Linked DNA regions of Homo sapiens: regions 2 and 3 are each linked to region 1. Evidence: promoter capture Hi-C in 16 types of primary human blood cells and fetal thymus (Javierre and others, 2016). All regions are on one chromosome and are shown on one strand. The core of a region is centred on a gene start or on the middle of the fragment in contact, and the rest is flanking DNA. Distances in the headings are between cores, read along the strand shown. Region 1 holds the start of COPS3 (COP9 signalosome subunit 3). Region 2 holds the start of LINC02090 (long intergenic non-protein coding RNA 2090). Region 3 has its middle 15 kb from the start of SMCR2.

The links. Contacts are between HindIII fragments. The CHiCAGO score rates a contact against its expected background, and 5 or more counts as called.
Region 2: a contact is called between the fragment with the promoter of LINC02090 here and the fragment with the promoter of COPS3 in region 1, in 14 of 17 cell types (total B cells, total CD8 T cells, M1 macrophages and 11 more). The highest score is 10.0, in total B cells.
Region 3: a contact is called between a fragment that was not itself captured here and the fragment with the promoter of COPS3 in region 1, in 1 of 17 cell types (endothelial precursors). The highest score is 5.0, in endothelial precursors.

Annotation. Positions count from the first base shown.
Region 1 is chr17:17,279,844-17,282,549 of GRCh38, forward strand. COPS3 (COP9 signalosome subunit 3) reads right to left here and starts at 1,403. Exons shown (of 12, transcript NM_003653.4): 1 at 1,289-1,403. The coding sequence starts at 1,343. RefSeq lists enhancers at 791-850, 1,501-1,600 and a silencer at 1,041-1,280. The HindIII fragment of the contact is 7,073 bases long and covers 1-2,706 here.
Region 2 is chr17:16,986,877-16,989,607 of GRCh38, forward strand. LINC02090 (long intergenic non-protein coding RNA 2090) reads left to right here and starts at 1,453. Exons shown (of 3, transcript NR_146886.1): 1 at 1,453-1,647; 2 at 2,039-2,174. RefSeq lists enhancers at 113-943, 1,576-1,795. The HindIII fragment of the contact is 6,040 bases long and covers 475-2,731 here.
Region 3 is chr17:17,661,718-17,664,417 of GRCh38, forward strand. No RefSeq gene overlaps it. Among named protein-coding and RNA genes, the nearest start is that of SMCR2, 15 kb to the right of the region's middle. RefSeq lists enhancers at 1,386-1,475, 1,966-2,105. The HindIII fragment of the contact is 2,360 bases long and covers 147-2,506 here.

The sequences.
Region 1 (2,706 bases), core at 153-2,652:
AAAAGGGCCTTCACAGCCAGCATCTAATCATTCGAATTTCAGGTCCAGAATTCGGTACATTCATACGCAATGAATGAACCAAACAACCTGGAAAGTGCGAGTAAAATCATCACAATTCTACCCCTAGAAATGGAGTCCTGGCCGGGCGCAGTGGCTCACGCCTGTAATCCTAGCACTTTGGGAGGCCGAGGTGGGCGGATCACTTCAGGTGAGGAGTTCGAAACCAGCTTGGCCAACATGGTAAAAACCCCATCTCTATTAAAAATACGAAAAAATTAGCCGCGTGGGCTGGCCGCGGTGGCTCATGCCTGTAATCCCAGCACTTTGGGAGGCCGAGGCCAGTGGATCACCTGAGATCAAGGTTCGAGACCAGCCAGGCCAACATGGTGAAACCCTGTCTCTACTAAAAATACAAAAATTAGCCGGGCAGGCGCCTGTAATCCCAGCTACTCGGGAGGCTGAGACAGGAGAATCGCTTGAACCTCGAAGGCGAAGGTTGAGGTGAGCCGAGACCGCGCCACTGCACTCCAGCCTGGGAGACAGTGAGACTCCGTCTCAAAAAAAAAAAAAGCCGTGTGAGCTGGCGGGCGCCTGTAATCTCAGCTACTCGGGAGGCTGAGACAGGAGAATCGCTTGAAGCCGGGAGGCTGAGGTTGCAGTGAGCCGAGATCGCGCCACTGCACTCCAGCCTCGGCTAAAAAAAAACAAAGAAGAAGAAATGGAGTCCTACGAGCGAGAGCTTCCGCAGCATTCTGTAGGACCAAAATAGGCGCACAGGTTCCCGAGCGTGCGCCGCCTGGCAGCGGAGGAGCTGGCAGAGGCGAGCCATAGAGCCAAGACACCCAGAACGGACTCGCCTCCCGCCCGCTCCCGGCGGCCTAGTCAGCAAGCTGCGGATCGGCGGCAAAGATGACATGGCGGTGCGCCAATCACCGAAGGCAAGAGAGACAGAAGGAACCAATAGTCGCCCGAGATGGCTCCTGGCGGAAGTCACGCCCCCAAACTGTCAAGCAAAGCGCCCGGTGGAAGGGGCCCAGGCCGGGGGGAGGGGGCTCCCGGCGGCCCGAGGGAGGGGAGGCCGGCCGGCGAGGACAGCGGAGCGCGAGGGGGCTGCCTACACTCGGCCGCGCTCGATCCTGCCCTGATCTAAACGCCGCAACCCCAAGCCCGGCCCCGGAGAAGAGTCTCAGGACTAAAAGGGCTGTTCCAGCCGTCCGTGCTGGCGCCTGGGGATCCAGGCCAGTTCCCGGTACCCGCCCATGCCCAGCCCGGCGGCCTAGGGCGTTACCTTGAGCTGAGAGCTGTCGGACACTGTTCACGAACTGCTCCAGGGCAGACGCCATGTTTTCCCCCGGGCGGCCCGAGCGGCGAAGGCAGCACGCGCGGGAAAAGGCTGCCGCTCTGGGAGGAGGGGCCGCGGCGATCCACCTGAGGTCCTCGCGAGCGGCGACGTCACTTCCGCTGGTTCAAGCACCGCGAGACTATACCTAGCTGCCCACCCGTTACTGTTTCCATGGAAACAGCCTGAATTCGCCGTAGCCGGAAATTAGTGTTCCATAGTCCCCTGCATCTTTATTCACTGCACTTCTGAAATCCCTCCGCAGGTTAAATGGGGATAGTGGGCAAAAGAAGGAAGGAAACTCATAATTAAGCAAGTATTTTCTGGTTCTGGATTTTGCTAGAGAGGCCCTGCGGTTTTCCACCTGGACAGATACTTCAATGAAGCACAACTTCGTTGCCACGTCTCCCGTGAGGTTTTCCCCGTGATATTAGACTCTGGAGCCAAGCAGCCTGGGTTCAACTGCCTTTTCTACCACTTAGTAGCTGTGTGACGTTGAGCGGGTCACTTGACTGTCGTGTGCATTGTTTTCCCCATCTGTAAAATCTTAGTGTCCTTAACCACGTAAAACACTTAGGACAGTGCATAGGACGTAGGGAGAACTATAGTTATTCATTCAAGGTGTACGTTGAATGAATCGATCCCTTCCCTGCAAAAAATAAATAAATAAGTAACACCACACACAGAAAGTGAATTGATTTTTCCCATCTGGGATTGATGTCTCCCTCCTCCGCTTGTCGCCTAAAGCACTTTGTTCTTCTCATGTTGCACTTCTACTCTGTTACAGAAATGTGTCTCTATAGTCCATGTGATATCTGTAAACCAAAAATAAAAGTCTAAGCCCCCCAACTGACTGGTGGACCCTATCTGAAGCCAAGGACATTCCAATTTATCCTGAAAAACTAGTTCAGGCCATGATGGGAAGTGGTAGTCAGACATGCCTCACAAACATCAACACAGAGACCTTAAGACTGGTAGACTCAAGACTGATAAGAAATATTTACAATCTATTCTGTCTGAATAGCAGGCTACCTGGAAGCCTCATCTGCATGATAAAACCTTGGTCTCCACAACCCCTTATAATCATAACCCAGATATTTCTTTCTATTTACTTCCAGGTCTTTAGATAATAACTCTTTCAACCAATTACCAATCAAAAAATCTTTAAGTCTACCTATAAGGTAGAAGCCCCCCACTGCCCCGAGTTAGCCCGTCTTTCCGATCCTAACCAACGTACATCTTACATGTATTGATCGATGACTCATGTCTCCCTAAAATGTATAAAACCAAACTGTACCCGCACCTTGGGCACATGTCCTGAGGAGCTCCTGAGGCCGTGTTATCATCGCATCCTTCACCTTGGCAAT
Region 2 (2,731 bases), core at 203-2,702, 290 kb before region 1:
TTGGGTCTAAAACTAAGACAGGCCCTAAGTACCCGGAGTCATCCTTGACTTCTCTTTCTCTCCCTGTCTCCTTCCCTTCCACCAATCCATTAGCAAACACTGTTGGCTTTACGTTCAAAATATGACCAAAATCATCTGAGCACTTACCACCTTCAGGCCTGCTTCAAGCCACCCCCTACCAGCCCCTTCTCAGAGGCCCCCCCACCCCCAGGTGCCATGTACTCTGTTAGCACCTGAGCCACAGCTGAGCCCTCCACTGCCCAGGAACCTCTGCCACTCCCCAGCTGCTCTGACTAAACACTGGATCTTTATAATGGCCCTGGGCCTTGAACCTGGGCCTTCTCTCCCTGAGCCCTCTGCCACTCTCCCCTGCTCACACCAGGCCAATGCTGACAACTTCCCCTCTGTGCTGTTCCGCTGCCTGGAATGCTCTCTGCCCAGATGTGTGCTTGGGTGACTGCTTGCCTCCCAGGAAGCTTGCCCAAATCTTGCCTCCTCAGTTAGGACAGCCCCGGCCATTCATCTCAAAGGCAAGGGGCACAGAGTATGGGCTCAGTACACGTATGGGGGAGGAGGGAGGGAGGGAGGTGGAGAGGGAGGAGGAGGAAGGGAGGAATGCACAGGCCATTTCATTCCAGCGAGAACAGGTCACAAGGCACACCCAAAAGCAACCCGGGTGGTACAAAACTAAAGATGACCGAAGGCCACCATGAACAGGCGGGAGAGGGCAGCTCTGTTCATCACCCCTGGGGCAGATGTGGAGACTCCAGATGTGTCACATCTGGACAGCCCCTTCTCTGCCCCTTCCTACCCCCTGCCCCGCCCATCCACCAGGGGTTCAAGACAATACAGGAGACAGTTGTCCTCCTCCCAGGACCCTGAGAATGGCTGGGGCTGGGGAAGATGCTCAGTGGCCTTTGAAACTCAGCTTAATTTTGCGCCAAACGGGTGACCCTGCCACCCCCATGAAAAGGCAGAGCACTAGAATGAGAGTCCAGACTATGGACTCTAGTCCTCTTGATGTCCCAAGCTCAGCATGTGACCTCAGACTAGGCACTTAGCCTCTGTGGGCCTCAGTTTCCCCTTCTGTCCAAATCAGGGGGGTTGGAATGTGGTCACCCAACTAAAAGCCCACTCTATACACTGAGCGTCTACAAATACAAGGAACACAGAGTTGATTTGTTAGGAAACCCATCACGTCCATCCTGACCTAGATGGGTTTCACTCTGACGTTGTGCAGTCAAATGCTCTACCCCTGAGCTACACCCCCTACTCTGACGTTGTGACCGCTGCACCTGGGCTGATTGTACCCCAGACCAGGGGCAATGTCACCTGGCACCACCCTTTCCCACTACTCTTCCCTCTCGAGAGAGACTGGGGTTTCACACAGAGCAGTCGAGCCCCATAAATAGCAGCTGGCCACTCACAGGCCAACCCTCCCAGGCCCCAAAAAGGAAGTGAGAGACAGGCAGACACTTCTGTTCTTCCTGCAGAAAGTGCTGCTTCTGCAGTGACTCGTCAGATGCTCCCCAGAGCCCAGCACAGACCCGGCTCCACCCACTTCTGTGGGTTGGCCAGATGAGTGAGAAACACAGGCACAGCCAACGAGAGGGAGCTGAGGCCGGACCCAGGAGTCTTTTTCCTATGGTAGGGGATATCTCTGTGTGAGGAAGCCCCATGGGGAGTCCTTGGGTGAGTTGCCAGGAGGAGGTGACTCAGGATAAATTCCCTTAGGAGGTGCCTTCACTTCTAGATCCAAAGAGTCATCCCCTACCTCCTTAGGGTAAAACTAGATTTTGAGTATCACGGTGTTTGTGGATAACCTGGCCCCAGTGAGTCCCCTTGCAAGGGCCTTTGGAGATGCTTCTGCACATGGACACTAGGAGCCATGAGCAGAGACAGTCCCTGCAGCAGCATCTGAAACCATGAACCCCAGGAAGACAACGTGGCACTGTTTTTGTCAGCCCTGCCTACGCTTTGCTAAAGTCTGTCCATTCAGCTCTTTTTCATGTTGACCGCACCACTGTTTCCTGCCCAGGTCCTGCCTGATATAGTAACCGGGAAAGGGATGAATGTGATGCAATGTGCTCTTGTAATGGAGCATCACAGAACAGGTCAAAGACACAAGCCACACAGCAACGAGCGCGGACAGGCAGGGCAGAGCACAGCTGCACGTAAGTACATTTTAAACACGGACCCCAACATAGCACTAGACATTGTTCATAATGCCTCCCTACATATGTAAAACACAAAAGTGGATTGGAGACACACAGAGGGGAGACTGCAGGCACCTCAGCCTCTCATCCCTCTTCTCATCAGGCCATTTCTGCTCTGCACCAGCGGTTCTCAACCAAAGTGCTTCTGCCTTCACTGTCAGGAGACATGTGGCCATGCTGGGGACATCTGGGGTGTCTCAATGATGGGGGTGGGAGGGATTGCTACTGGCATCTGGGGGTAGAGGCCAGGGATGTTCCCAACCATCCTAGGATGCAAGGGACAGCCCCACCACAAAGCAGGTGTGGCCCCAGCTCGTTCACAGCTGTCTACTTCCTCCTGGCGTAGCTGTGCAACTTGTACAACCACAAGCAACACGTATTTGTTTTACAAGGAACTCACTGGAGACAGCACCCAGTCTGAGAACTTTGTACTATGGAAGGGTTTTGTTTTTGAAAACCGAAATTACAGAATAAATTACAGAGAGAGAGAGAGCAAGAGCGAGAGCGAGAGAGTA
Region 3 (2,700 bases), core at 77-2,576, 380 kb after region 1:
AAAAAGAAAATAAACTACTATATTCACGGCAAAGACAGATTAAGGACAAGGCAGTTGAAAATGAAATGACAGGACCTGAAGAAAAGTGTGTTTCCCAGAGCTGCTCTCACGAGCTCTCCGGGAGGTGGGAGGGTCACTCAGCCCCAAGCTTTGTGAGATGTTGGGTGTTGGTGTGTGGCCAGGTATATTTACGTATAATTTACATACAATTAAACTCATCAATTTTTAGCATACAATTCTATGGATTTTGACAAATGTGTCAAATCACATAACTGCCTCAAGCCCCCTTGTGGTCAGGTCAGCCTTTTCCCCATCCCCAGTTCCTGGCAACCGCTGATTAGTTTTCTGTCCCTATCATTTTGTCACTCCCGGAATGTCACATAATAGAATCCTGCAGCCTACAGCCTTTCAAGGCTGGCTACTTTTGCTCAGCATAATCCACTTAAGATTCACTGATATTTTTGTACGTACCAGTAGCTTGTTCCTTTTTTTTGAGACGGAGTTTCACTCTTGTGGCCCAGGCTGGAGTGCAATGGCACGATCTCAGCTCACTGCAACCTCCGCTTCCTGCGTTTAAGCGATTCTCCTGCCTCAACCTCCCAAGCAGCTGGGATTACAGGCATGCACCACCAAGCCTGGCTAATTTTGTATTTTTAGTAGAGACAGGGTTTCTCCATGTTGGTCAGGCTGGTCTCAAACTCCTGATCTCAGTGATCTGCCCGCCTTGGCCTCCCAAAGTGCTGGGATTACAGGCATGAGCCACCGCGCCTGGCCATTTGTTCCTTTTTATTGACAAATACTATTTCCTTGTCTGGACATACCGCATGTTGCCTCTCCATTCATCAGTGGATGAACAATGGGCTGTTTTCACCAGTGCACTTGCCTTGGAATCCACAAACTGCAAATGGCAGTGGCCTTGCCCATCCCACCCACACCGCTGCAGTGCGCGGCCTGCTCGTTGGGCCACAGATACATGAACCTCCACCTGCCTCAGGGCCTCTGCACTTACTGTTGCGATGCTTGCGATGCTCTTCCCATGACTCTGGCCTCCTTCCTCAGAACCTCTGCTCATAAGTCACCTCTCTGACCACCCTGTCCTCAGTTTCCACCCCATCACTCTCTGTGCCCTCCTCCTGCTGTTCCTTCTCCCAGCACCCACTGGAGTCTCTGGTTTTGTTTGCTTGTTTGTGTATTGTCCATCTCCCACCAGACTGGAGACTGGAGACCCTCAGCGGAGGAAGTCTCTGTTCATGGCTGTATCCCCAGGGCCTGACACAGAGTGGACTCTAAATATGAGTTGAGTGAGCAGCTGCTGGTACAGGATCACAGGAGGATTAAATGAAATAGCGAGTGTGAGTGCCCTTTGCAACCTGCTGTGCTTATTGAGGGGGAAACAGGCTGAGAAAGGTGCAGTGACCAACCCAGGGCCACCAGGTCAGAGCGATAGACACCCAGGCCTACACCCCTCCCTGGGCCACCCTCCTGTCCACCCTGCCTCAGGGCCAGCGTTCCTAAGGCACATTACACACACACACAGCCCACAGACACCCAGACCGCACACACAGCTCAACACCACACACAGACAAACGCCCTCAATGCAGACATGCCCAGCCTTGCACACACAGGAAGTCCACACACAAACACCAGCACACTGCCTTGAACACGCAGGAATAGCATTCACACGCCCATCCCCCTACACAAACACACAGGCCACACCCACACGCCAAAACACACCCCCAGCGTCAGACCTTGATGACTGACAGCCCAGGACTCCAGTGGGCTTGCGTCGCCATAACAACAGACGGCTCCGAGTCTTGGGCTGTGAGTGTGGTCGGGCTGTGAGTCACAGCTGCAGCAGACGCTCCGCAGAGCAGGAGCAGCCTGGCCCAGTGCGGACTCCCCAGTGCCAACCTCTTATGGACGCAGAGTGGACCCTCTCAGATGGGTGTGCAGTGTCCATTAGCATTACCCACAGGAGGGATGTGGCCCTCAGGTGTCCCCTGTGTGCCACACACTGGCGTGCGCCCAGAGCTTCACACACATTTTCTTGCTTAATCCTCGTGGTGTCCTCACCAAATCAGTGTGGCCAGGGAGACCATTTTACAGATGTTGAAACTGAGGTTCAGGTAGGGGAAGTCCCTTGCCTCACTCAGGTCACACAGTGAGTCACCACCAGGCCTGAAATTTGAATTCAGGTCTACTGAACCATGAAGGGTCCTCTTTCCACTGCCCTGAATCCAATCCAGGGGAGCTCCCAGCTGTGCACACCATTTCCAGACAAGAGCAATAGATTATCAGCTCTCACTTGCACCAGAGTTGGTTCTGCCCTTGTAGAGCTCCCTTGGTAGGTAGTGAGATCCCCATCATGAGCAGCATCCAAGCAGAGACTGTCATAGCTGCTATGGAGAAGCATCAAGTATCAGGGGACAAGGGGTTGGACCAGACGGCCTGGCTTTGAGTTGTAAATGACAAAAAAAATTATTGGCAAACAAAACAGGAATATAAAAGCTTCAGGAACAGCTGGATCCAGCTGTCAGATGTCATCAGGAATCTTCTTCTGGATTTCCCCTTCCTTGGGGTTCACTTTCTTCTCAGAATAACCTTCCCTAGCCTAGGGTAGACCTCACAGCTGCAGGCTTACATCGGTCGTGGCCCCCAAAAGCAAGCTTAATAGATGTTTGTCAGATGAATGCTAGAAGC